Linked DNA regions of Homo sapiens: regions 2, 3 and 4 are each linked to region 1. Evidence: promoter capture Hi-C in 16 types of primary human blood cells and fetal thymus (Javierre and others, 2016). All regions are on one chromosome and are shown on one strand. The core of a region is centred on a gene start or on the middle of the fragment in contact, and the rest is flanking DNA. Distances in the headings are between cores, read along the strand shown. Region 1 holds the start of GAB2 (GRB2 associated binding protein 2). Region 2 overlaps GAB2 (GRB2 associated binding protein 2). Region 3 overlaps NARS2 (asparaginyl-tRNA synthetase 2, mitochondrial). Region 4 overlaps NARS2 (asparaginyl-tRNA synthetase 2, mitochondrial).

Evidence for each region. The method cuts DNA at HindIII sites, captures the fragments that hold promoters and counts their contacts. A CHiCAGO score of 5 or more calls a contact.
Region 2: a fragment that was not itself captured here is called in contact with the fragment with the promoter of GAB2 in region 1 in 5 of 17 cell types (neutrophils, monocytes, M2 macrophages and 2 more); the score reaches 11.2 in neutrophils.
Region 3: a fragment that was not itself captured here is called in contact with the fragment with the promoter of GAB2 in region 1 in 1 of 17 cell types (total B cells); the score reaches 5.4 in total B cells.
Region 4: a contact is called between a fragment that was not itself captured here and the fragment with the promoter of GAB2 in region 1, in 6 of 17 cell types (total B cells, naive B cells, M2 macrophages and 3 more). The highest score is 22.0, in total B cells.

The regions. Positions count from the first base shown.
Region 1 is chr11:78,416,552-78,419,386 of GRCh38, forward strand. GAB2 (GRB2 associated binding protein 2) reads right to left here and starts at 1,269. Exons shown (of 10, transcript NM_080491.3): 1 at 1,095-1,269. The coding sequence starts at 1,169. RefSeq lists silencers at 1-166, 629-758, 829-928, 1,039-1,658 and an enhancer at 255-1,009. The HindIII fragment of the contact is 5,597 bases long and covers 1-2,835 here.
Region 2 is chr11:78,335,313-78,338,393 of GRCh38, forward strand. The region is part of intron 1 of GAB2 (GRB2 associated binding protein 2); the gene reads right to left. Among named protein-coding and RNA genes, the nearest start is that of GAB2, 81 kb to the right of the region's middle. The HindIII fragment of the contact is 2,670 bases long and covers 1-2,588 here.
Region 3 is chr11:78,490,824-78,493,854 of GRCh38, forward strand. NARS2 (asparaginyl-tRNA synthetase 2, mitochondrial) reads right to left here. Exons shown (of 14, transcript NM_024678.6): 7 at 2,240-2,372. All of the region lies in intron 1 of LOC105369403 (a long non-coding RNA gene), which reads left to right. Among named protein-coding and RNA genes, the nearest start is that of NARS2-AS1, 41 kb to the right of the region's middle. The HindIII fragment of the contact is 4,140 bases long and covers 1-3,031 here.
Region 4 is chr11:78,540,084-78,542,891 of GRCh38, forward strand. All of the region lies in intron 5 of NARS2 (asparaginyl-tRNA synthetase 2, mitochondrial), which reads right to left. All of the region lies in intron 1 of NARS2-AS1 (NARS2 antisense RNA 1), which reads left to right. Among named protein-coding and RNA genes, the nearest start is that of NARS2-AS1, 8.3 kb to the left of the region's middle. The HindIII fragment of the contact is 285 bases long and covers 1,124-1,408 here.

The DNA.
Region 1 (2,835 bases), core at 19-2,518:
CCAGGCTGTGGGAGTGATCCCGGAGTTCGGCACCACAGCCCGTTAAACAAGGGCATTTCATGGGAAACGGAGAGGGAGCAGATGAGAGACCTTGAAACCTTCCAGCAACCTTACCCCCACTTCCAAACTCCCGCGACTACCCCAAGACCATTTCGGCCAAATCTCAGTAACTGGCACCATCTTGTACTTTGACCTCACCAGGCAAGGCATCCTCTGGGGAGAGGGGTTAAAAAAAAAAAAAAAAAAAGCCAGAACTCCACGGCTCAGCGCCACGCTGTTCCACCTCCCCCAGGCTGCCAGTTCCCCACCTAGAGGGAAAAGGCTGTTCCAGCGATCTCAGTAAACACTGTCGGTTGGCAACACCTGGCCGCGGAGAGCCTCGATCTCTCCCGACCCCAGACACCCGGGAGCTGCCCGGTCCCAAACCCGGGCCAGCCACGGGGACCAAACTGCAGTGTCACACCGGGGTCGGGGGGAGGCGCCTGTGAGAGACGAACGGAATAAAGGGAAAGAAGGGGGACAAACAAATGAGTCACTTAATACAAGGGCTGCACATGCCGCTGACGCTGCCGGTGATGCAGCCGCGGACGGAGGGAGGCCGGCGGCCGGGAGGGGCAGGCGGAGAAAGGGAAGGAGAGGGCGTGAGGCGCTCGCCCTTTGTGGGGCCGTCCGCGCGGCCCCACAGCCTACGCCCCCCTTTCCCGCCCTCTCCCCGACCCTGCGGGCTGAAGCTGCTCGGGGCTGCCGCGGAGCCCCAGCCCCGAGAGTCAACTCTCTCGGTCTCCAGAAGCCATCAATACAAAACTTCGACACTGTATTTAGTTCACGAGCAGACCGGCTTGGGAGGCGCCGCAGCCGCACCCGCCTGGCGGAGCAGGAGCCGCAGCCTCAACCTGCCGCCCGCCCCGCCCCTCGGCGGCCCACCTGTGACAGGTGTGCAGGTGCCCCACACGCCCCCGGCCGCTCCTCGCCCCCGGCCCCCCGCGGCTCCGGGCCCGAGCTCCCCAGCCTGCCGCCCCTCCGGGAGTCCCCCGCCCCTCCGCAGGCCCCGGAGCGCCCCCCGCCCGCCCCTGGGCGGCCGCGCCCGCACTCACATAGCGCCTCAACTTCTTCTCGGGAGGCGATTTCCTCAGCCAGCCGGTGCACACCACGTCGCCGCCGCCGCTCATGCTGCCGGCCTGGAGCCCCCCGCCGGGTCGCGCGGACGAGGGCGCGGGCTCGGGCAGCTGGGGCAGCGGCCGGCGGTGCGCAGCTCGCGGGAGGCCAGGGGCGGGGCGGGCGGCCCGGCGGGGACTAGGCGGCGCGGCGCGGCGCGAGCCCGGCAGCCTCGCGCGCGCCCGCTCCCCCGCCCCGAGCGCGCGCAATCCGCACTCTCCGCCCGGCCGCCGGGGGAGCAGCTGCAGCAGGAAGGCCGGCTCGCTCGCCACGCCCGCTCCCGCCGCGCCCCCGAGGCCGCCGCGCACGCGGACGCGGGGCTAGGGACCCGCGAGGATACAGAAAGCCACCGCCGCCGGCGCGCCCCGGAGTCTCGCTTTCTCCTGAGGCCCCAAGCCGCGGGCGCGGAGGCCAGGGAGGCGACCGCGCCCCTGGCGCTGGCGGGTGTGAGGGGAAGGGACTGCGCGCCCTCGGTCGTCGATCGATTTTTCACCGAGCGTCGACGGGGAAGGGATACTAGGGCTGCTCACATTTCCGATACATTCTGCGGGTCAGGTTCCGGCTGAAAGGAGGGACCCCTTCCCAGCAAGAAGCTCCTTAACTCTGGCGTCCCTCGGCGGGAGGAGGAGACGGACCTACTACGCGCCGGAGCCTTTGCTTTTGTAGCTTACAGGATTGTCTTCAGTATTGTTCCTATTTTATGGACAGCCTAAGGGCAAGGGCTTGTACAAAGCCGAGCCAATTTTCCAATTCAGGTGTGTGGGGGAGGAGGGGTCCCGGTCATCTGCTATTCAAAATGAGGGCATTGCCTTAATGGGATCGACCTGGGAGCCTCTCATTGCCTGGAAACCAAGTCCAGCTGACTCCCTCCTACACTGCCTCTGGGAAAACACAGTTTAGTATAGAAAATTCGCATGATTTGTAGAATGGAAGAAGCAAAACTAGTCAATGTATTTCATAACGAATTGGAAGGCAAGGTCAAGTGCAGAAGAACAAGAAATTGGGGTCCAAATTCCCCAACGTTCCCGCTCATTGACACAGGCTATGAGACCTCTGTTTGTAAATATAATGGTATCCCAGATGTACGTGGAAGCACACAACCCCAGCACTTCAGCGGGAGGGGGGAGAAAAAAATCTTTTGTACGAGCTCTTTTCTCATCACAAAGTGTCTCTCTAAGCAGCATTAAAAGGCAGGTCCTCCCTAACTTCTCTGATAAGTGGATAGTAACCTGTTTATTCAATGGGGAACCGTGCTGTGTGGACAGATGAATTGGAGAAGCAGCATCTTGCAGTGCCCCACACAACCTCAGACTAAAGCTGTTTTGTTTATTTCTGTCTCTGTGCAGCTGAGTTGTTTCAAGCAGTTGGACATCATTTGGTCCAAAAGATCTTGATTGGGTTGGGGGAAGTTCACCCTCCTCAATTTGGAAAAGCGAATCCCCTACCACGTACTTAGCTCTTCTAGATACCCTGGGAGTTTTAGCGGTCAGTCCCCTGGATCTAACATTTCACTGACTTTCTTCAATATCCAGTGTGCTGCTGGATGGGAAGTAAAGCCAGAACTGGTAGGCTGGGACCACAGCTCCCTTAACCTTACAATTTAGGGATCCTTAAGTCACGTATGAAGGGCCACCACCAGAATGATGGCCATTTTAACTTCTGGCTTTAAGTACCTTAAAT
Region 2 (3,081 bases), core at 4-2,503, 81 kb before region 1:
TCTAGACCAATGTCCTGGAGATTTTCCCCAATCAGTTCTTGTAGGAGCTTCATAGTTAGAGGTTTTAGATTTAAGTCTTTAATTCATTTTGATTTGATTTTTGTATATGGTGAAAGATAGGGATCTAGTTTCATTCTTCTGCATACGGATATCCAGTTTTCCCAGCAACACTTACTGAAGAAACTGTCTTTCCTCCAGTGTGTGTTCTTGGCAGCTTTGTTGAAAATGAGTTCACTGTAGGTATGTGAATTTGTTTCTGGGTTCTCTATTCTATTCCATTGGTCTATGTGTCTGTTTTTTTGCCAGTACCATGCTGTTTTGGTTAGTATAGCTCTGTAGTATAATTTGAAGTGGGTAATGTGATTCCTCAAGTTTTGTTCTTTTTGCTTGGGATAGCTTTGGTTATTCTGGGTCTTTTGTGATTCCATATAAATTTTAGAATTGTTCTATTTCTGTGAAGAATGTCATTGGTATTTTGACAGGGAATGCATTGAATCTATAGATTTGGGTAGTATGGACATTTTAACAATATTAATTCTTCCAATCCATGAGCATGGAATATCTTTCCATTTTCTGGTGCCTTCTTTAGTTTTTTTCATCAGTGTCTTATAGTTTTCATTACAGAGATCTTTCACTTTTTTAGTTAAATTAATTCCTAGGCATTTAATTTTATTTGTGGCTACTATAAATGGGATTACTTTTTAAAAAATTATTTTCCAGGTCGGGCATGGTGGCTCACACCTGCAATCCCAGTACTTTGGGAGGCGGAGGGAGGCGGATCACTGGAAGCCAGGAATTCAATACCAGCCTGGCTGACATGGTGAAATCCTATCTCTACTAAAAATACAAAAATTAGCTGGGCATAGTGGTGCACGCCTGTAGTCCCAGCTACTGAGGAGGCTGAGGCAGGAGAATTGTTTGAACCTGGGAGGTGGAGGTTGCAGTGAGCCAAGATCGCACCACTGCACTCACTGCACTCACTCCAGCCCGGGCGACAGAGCGAGACTGTCTCTCAAAAAAAAAAAAAAAAAAAAAAAAAAAAAAAAAAAACACAACAAGAATTATTTCCCAGATTGTTCACTGTTGACATATAGAAATGCTACTGATTTTTGTATGCTGATTTTGTATCCTGCAACTTTACTGAATTTATCAGTTGTAATAGTTGTTGTTTTTTTTTTTTTTTGGTGAAGTCTTTAGGTTTTTCCAAATATGAGATCATATCATGAGCAAACAAGGATAATTTGACTTCCTGGGAGGAGGGATAATTAACGGGCACCTTAAATCTCTAAAACCTTGGTAAAGTGCTTTGTTTTATAAAATAGATAATAGTTAGAATTTTGTGTTTTGTCTATGGATGTCTACACATTATTTTAGACCCTGGAAATACAGGTGCCACAGCTGACATTTTATTTGCTAAATTTCAACAATAACCATCATCAAACAGTGAAAAATGAACAGGAATAAATAGCATGGGAACATTAAGTGGCCAAAGGGTATGAGAAAAATGTTAGGAAATTCTTGTTATCTGTGCAATTAGAAACAAAATAAACCAAAGAATTGAATTAATGACAAGAAGTGATATATATTGAACTAAAATATGTTAGCATCTAGTCATTTCTATTTCTAAAATATCATAGTAAAGGGAAGAAAAGCCATTGTATTCAACTGCTCAGAAATCTGACTGTGAGTACTCCAGCATCTACCTACCTTTGACTATGGACTTCTGAAGACTATAGTACTAGCACTAGCAGGGAACAACATTCAAAGAACCTTGGACTGGGCAACCAGCCTTGCGATTAAATGCTTCTTGCTCAATGTTCATCTAATACCTTTGGGTTCCAAGATCTCAACACATTCTTAGCATTTGGTCTCAGCAAAAGATCAGATAATCATTTGCTTCTCAGCGTAGATTTCAGTTAGTGGGTTTGATTTCCTCATCTAGTACTATTTGCCTCTTAAATCAAATGTCCAAAAAGAAATAAGGACAGGGCAAAAGGCAATATGCAAAAGGCACCAGAAGCTACTATGCGGGGGTTTCCTTTTTGCTGTAGTCTCAGAAATGGCAGGGAGGGGTCAGAAGTTTTTGCCCTATTAGGAAGTAAGGCAGAATTCCCCACAGTGATGTCACAGACAAGACTTAGTTAAGGAGGGGCTAGAAAGTAATAAAAGAATGGAATGATATGTTTTCTCCCCTGACAACCCACACCGTTCTCTTAGAGGCAGGGAAAAGAGAAAGAAGGTGGAAGTTGGAGAAAGAATGGTAGAGTATTAGGCAAAGAAAATAAAAGTCTTCCCTCATAGAAGAAGAAAGCATCATTCTAGTAACTCCCCATCCCTACCCTATCTCAAGTGCAGCTAATGGTGAGAAGTAGAAAATGTTTTGTCAATAAATGAATCACAAATGAGTTCCTCTCTATATTCCGTAAGACACATTCTGTGTAGATCCTGTAATTAAGGAGTTCCAAACTTAGCTAAGAAGCCATGTACATTTTTAAAATATAAAGCAGCACAAATACAGCATTAAGTCAGAAGTAATATTAGGAGTTTAGAGGCATGAACAACTGCTGTAGCTCAGAGTGGTTTGAGAAAGCTTTGTAAGCAAAAGACCCGAGGCCAGGCCAGGTCAGTATGAAGGCCTGGACTACATTATCCTTCCTAGTTCATCTTCTTTCTTTGGCTCAGTCAGCAAGGAACTTCTAAACATATAAAAACAATACACCATCAAATGTCTTACAAAAGTACTCCATAAAGTATAAAATGTTAAGTATGTTACCTGACTCTTCAGGAGAGCAGGATGAAGTGAATTATCTGTTACCATCACCATCATAAGAGCATTGAATGTTCAATGTTCAATTCAATGCCAGACACTGCACTGTTGGCTGGATAACATAATGCCTATTCATAATCCCTTTTCCTTGTTTGTCCTTAATTAGAGAGTCTAGGCAAACAGAATGTTTACTTTCCTGGTAACTGGAGGTATCCACATGTCACAGTTCTGAATAATAAGACATAAGTAGAAATCTTTTGGAGGTTCCTGGGAAAGCTTTTGCTTCTCTTGCTACCATGAGGCTGAAAGCCCAC
Region 3 (3,031 bases), core at 445-2,944, 75 kb after region 1:
TTAGATTGAAATGCTCCGGTTTAGAGCAGAATAAAATAATTTCATGGCACTGTTGACTGAATGCAAAGGTGAAAATCTGTAACTGAATTCTGCTCACACTTACTAAAAAGGTATGTAGCTTAACCTATCTATTCCTCAATGTTTTTACTAATATAACTGAGAAAAATAAACGATATCTTGCAACCCTGTCATATGGTAAAATATAATTGTAGAACAAAGATTAATAAAGAATTAGGGGATGGGCTCAAGTGAAAGCTACTTAAGGAATGCCACTGACTCCTTCTGAAGCTCAGATCCTGAATCCCTACAGTCCAGAATATGGTTGTTCAACAGCAGCACTACTGATACTTTGGGCCAGCTAATTACCGGGGAGAAGGTGGCTGTGCACTTTAGGTTGTTGAACAGCACTTCTGCCTTTACCAACTACATGCTAGTAGTGACCACTCTCCCCCTTCCCTGCCCATTCCCTAATAGGGATAACCAAAAATGTCCCATGGGGACTGATCCAAAATGCTCAGCGGGAAGTGTAAAGGGAGCATGGAAGTGAAATGCTATATTGTGTGGCCGAATGCCCCTTCAGGGCCAAGTGCCCTATATGGGAATCCAGGAATATTACTAACTGCTGATGGTTTATAGTTGAGTGCTTCATCAGGAACTGTCGAGACCCAAAGGTACTGCCTTACTCAAGGTTATGCCCCTTCCAGTGGCTAATCACATCCAATGATTGGTTGATATGGGAAGGCACAAAGTGCTAACGCCTTGCTTTTAGATGGGACAACTGTTCCCATCTGGTTTAGGACCATTCCAGTTCCAAAGTTCTTCACAGAAGAAGCTAAGGCCTCTGTTTGTAAATGGATCACAGTTCACACTTCCCACTGTTCAATGTGACTTTCTTCCTTTCCTTATGAATACTGTTCTCAAGAGCACTCCCTAATAACGCCCCTGCCCACACATCTCTGCCTTAGAGAGTTTTGTTTACTAGGAAATCCAACTCAAGACAGGGTAATAAAATAATTAGTCTGTTCTATTTGTGATATATATGGTATTTATGTTTTAAGTGGAAATAGGTCATTTACTGGGTAAGAGTAGAAAGACATAGAAATGAACAGAAAGGAGAGTTGATGAAAATCACTAAAATAAACATCCCATAATTACAAATCCAAACTAAGATAGTAACCACAATGCTTCTGAATAGACAATTCATAATTTAACAGTTAACAATTCCTGGGTATTTACTAAGTGCCATAAATTATGCTAAGTACTTCATATATATATATATATATATACAGACACACACACACACACACACACATATATAGATTTTATCTACCTGATCTTCTCAAGTAGCCTATAAAGTAGGAATTTTTATTCCTATGTATTGGAATTTTGATGAAGACACTGAGGCCTAGAGACATTAAGTCCCTTGTCTAAGTTGGTCACATAGCATGTGAGTGGTTAAGCATCAAATCTTGGTCCATTCAATTCCACTTGTGTGCACTGTCTGGATTATGTCTACAGCCTCCTAACAAGGCCTCTCTACTTTTATCTACCTCTAAATCATTGTTCATATTGCTGCTAAAAAGATGTGCCTAAAATATAGCTCTGACCTTCATTTTCCAATTTAGAACTCTTGCTCCTTAAATTTTGGGTAAAGTTCAAACTCCTTACTATGGCACTGAAATACAAGGTCTTTCATGATCTGTTGCCTGACCATGACCATCTCTCCAGCCTTGTCCCCTGCTCAACTGAGCTGATAGCTCCTGTGGATGCTTTCTAATATAGCTACATAGGGGTTTATGTAAGTATTACAGACATTTATATAATTATAAAGATGTTTGGTATATTTTCCTAGCAAATCAGAGCTACTATTTAGTGAACCTGCTTGTGTTCCAGACCCCATGCTATATGCATTATATTATATATACAATTTCATTTACCCCTCACATAACCTTAGGAGTAAGCACAATTATTCTCATTTTAGAGTTGAGGAACCTAAAGATCATGAAAGTCAGGGAACTTCATAGCAAAGCTAATGGCAGAGCTGGGATATAAACTTAAATCTGTCTGACTCTTGTATTTTAAACTATTACAGTAAAGGCATTCAATAAGTGTTTATTAAGTAGTTACCCCTTCTTTTCACTTTATGAATACCTGTAACACATAAACGTCCGAGGTAAAAATATATACAGAAACATTTTAATGTCACAGATACCTGGTATTTTAAAACTTGTGTACCTACCTGCATAAGATCTTGAAGGCTGTCAACAAAAGAAATCTCTGCTTCTATCATATAAAACTCTGCCAGGTGCCTCCGGCTCTGAGAATTTTCAGCTCGGAAGGTCGGACCAAAGGTAAACACTTGAGTAAAAGCTCTGCAATTCAAGATTAAGAGAATGCAAATAGAATTCACATGATTAATTTTAAGTATTTAAATATTCAGTGAGCTCTTACGGAAAATAAAGTTTTGTGTGCCTCTGTCTTGTCCACAGACTGACACATATTTGCTGCTACATATTTCTCTAATAGGTGATAATAACAGTTTCATTAAAAATGTTACATTGAGGCTGGGCACAGTGGCTCAGGTCTGTAATCCTAGCACTTCCTGGGAGGACTGCTTAAACTTAGGAGTTCAAGACCAGCCTGGGAAACATGGTGAAAATTTATCTCTACAAAAAATCCTTTAAAATAGCTAGGTGTGATGGCCTGTGCCTATAGGTCCAGCTACTTGGGAGGCTGAGGCAGGAGGATCGTTTGAGTCCAGGAGGTGGAGGCCACAGTGAGCCATGTTCATGCCACTGCATTCTGGCCTGGGCGAGAGTGAGATCCTGTCTCAATAAATGAACAAACAAACAAAAAAAAAAAAGAAAAAAAAAAGTTACATTTATAGAAACCATTTTATCCTGAAGGAATCTGCAACTGCTTCACAAATCCTATGGTTTTACTAAATATAGAAACATAACCACTTCTGGGTGCACTCTACTGCAGCTGCCTTAAAACAGCAGGCAACTACATTTCACAGCAATCAAGAACA
Region 4 (2,808 bases), core at 16-2,515, 120 kb after region 1:
TTAACCTAGCCTTTCTCTATTATGCAAAACAAAAATTTTTGCTAGGTTATTCTGCCACTGGAAGACAGTAAATAGCACAGCCAAGAAAGGGGAAACCAAGAGCTACCAAAAAAATTTTTTTAATGTGTGTATCCCAGTGAATTTCTTACCACACGGATCTAAAATCCTCCCTGTTTCTTTGAGGATTTCCAAGAAAATATTAAACAAGTATTTTGAATTGCCCTCCAGTTATTTGTTCTCACAGCAGAACAAATTTAGCTGAGCAGTTTCACAATCTCAGGAGAATTAAATAGAAAAACCCACACAAGTCCGACTCTGTCTCCATGTAAAATATATAGCAAGGAGCGAGAGTAAATAGCAGTAAGCTGAACAGTGGAAAGGAATATAATCAACAATGGAAAACTTATTTGACCTCTACAATCACTGAAACACCCAATCTATTTTTATCTCCTTTTACTTTTTCCATTTTCTACTTTGTACCCTACCCCCACCTTTTACCCAGTTCTATTTACTCATAATCCCAGAGACAAAAAGTTGGGAAGAGAATACATAAAGATGAAGCATGGTTCAGAAATTTAAAAGGTTTAAAATCATAATGGCATGCTATTGTCCTGTTTACCTCAATCTGCAATTTCCTTTGAAGATCATGAAGAAAAGGGAGAGTACTCACCATCTGTAAGCTCCATATAACCACTGAATATCCTATTTTCTTTCTTGATCCCAATTAAGAGATTAGAGGGAGGCTATGCCTTTCACGATACAGATAGTAAAGAATAAAAAAATCTAAGTTAGATAAAACTTTAATTTTTTCACGCCTGTAATCCCAGCACTTTGGGAGGCCAAGGTAGGCGCATCACCTGAGGTCAGGAGTTCGAGACCAGCCTGGTCAACATGGTGAAACCCCATCTCTACTAAAAATACAAAAATTAGCCAGGCGTGGTGGCGCACGCCTGTATTCCCAGCTACTTGGGAGGCTCAGTCATGAGAATTGCTTGACTCTGGGAGGCAGAGGTTGTTGTGAGCTGAAACTAGTACTATTGTACTCCAGCCTGAGTGACAACAGTGAAACTCCATCTCAAAAAAAAAAATTTTAATTCAACTTCCCTCTTGTAAAAGATGCTAAAGCTTAAAAATGTTAAATGTCAAATGTTAGAATAAATGTTATATACAACTACTTTTTGGTAAGATCAGTTGTAGAATCCAGGTTTCTCAGCTTCTAGTACAATCACCTTTCCAATAAGTCATGTCACTTTTTTTTTTTTTTTGAGATAAGGTCTTGCTATGTCGCCCAGGCTGGTCTTGAACTCCTGGGCTCAAGTGATCCTCTCACCTCTGCCTTCCGATGGGACTACAGGCATATACCACTGTGCCCAGCTCTCGCATTTTTTATCCTGTAGTGTTGAAATAAAGCTTTGGATTAAAATGCTTTTAATATTAGTCTCTCCTAAGTATGAAATGCTGATCATATAACATAAAACAAGCCAGGTGTAGTGGAGGGTGCCTGTAATTCCAGCTACTCGGGAGGCTGAGGCAGGAGGATCACTTGAGTCCAGGAGTTTGAGGTCAATGAGTTATGATCATACCACTGCACTCCAGCCTAGGTGAGAGAGTAAGACTCTGCCTCTAAAATCAATCAACCAACCAAGCAATCAATCATAGGAACTAAATCTGTCATACAGTCTCCAAAGATTTGTGGGTTGGTAGTTTCATGATCCCTATCAAGCTGTATCTCAAATGCAGTTGCTATCATTGCTGCAGAAATTGTTCTGCATGCCATTAGACTGCATCTCATACGTAAAAACCAAAGCCAAGGGAAACAGGCTCAATAAACTGCATTCTATTTTGCCGGTTATGTTAGTTTTGGGATTTGCCTATTAACAAGCCATATATGTAGGTCTTTCACTAATCTAAAAATTTCCAATAAGTCCAGTTTATGTTTCCATACTTTCCACTTGCTACAAATGTGTATCTTGGTGTACACAGAACTGCTAGTATAAAAATAATCTTTCTTAAAATAAGGGTTCATTTACATTCCAGAACACCCACTAACTAGAACACCCACTCAGCCCTGAGAAAGGTTTCATTTAAACAACTATTTGATCAGCAGGAAAGGAAGTTATTAAGTCAGACTGTTTGTAAACAGTGTTTTCCTGCTGAGCAGTCTGAGAAAGAATGAATCAAGAAAAGACGCGTGGAGTCTAATATTAGAGGGTAAGGTTGAGGCAAAACAGAAAGTGAATATACAATGCTGCCTTATTTTTCTTTTACAGGAGATAAACACAAATGTAAAATTGCAAAACAGCAAACTTATTCCTAAATGTAAAGGGGTCGGTGAAAAATGAACCAAACTTTTTTTCACTATTGCTTGAAAAATATTAATTTTGGCTTATTCATTGTCAGATTGGGGCTTTAAGGATGAATATGATAAGATATGGTCCTAGTCCGTTAACTAGGACTTCTGTGAGAAGGGATACCTATGCTCCAGAGTTAAGTCTCCAAACCACGTATCCACACAAAGGACTTGACTACCACTAAACACAGCAGGTACTCAATAAATACTTATAAATCCCAGCACTTCGGTGGGGTGGAGGCAGGAGGATTGCTTGAGACCAGGAGTTCAAGACCAGCCTGAGCAACATAGTGAGACCCTGACTCTACTTTAAAAATTAGCTGGGTGTGGTGGTGCGCACCTGTAGTTTTAGTAACTCTAGAGGCTGGAGTGGGTGGATCACTTGAGCTCAGGAGGTCAAGGCTGCAGACAGCCATGATCGCTGGCTCATCACTGCACTCCCAACAGGGCGACAGAGC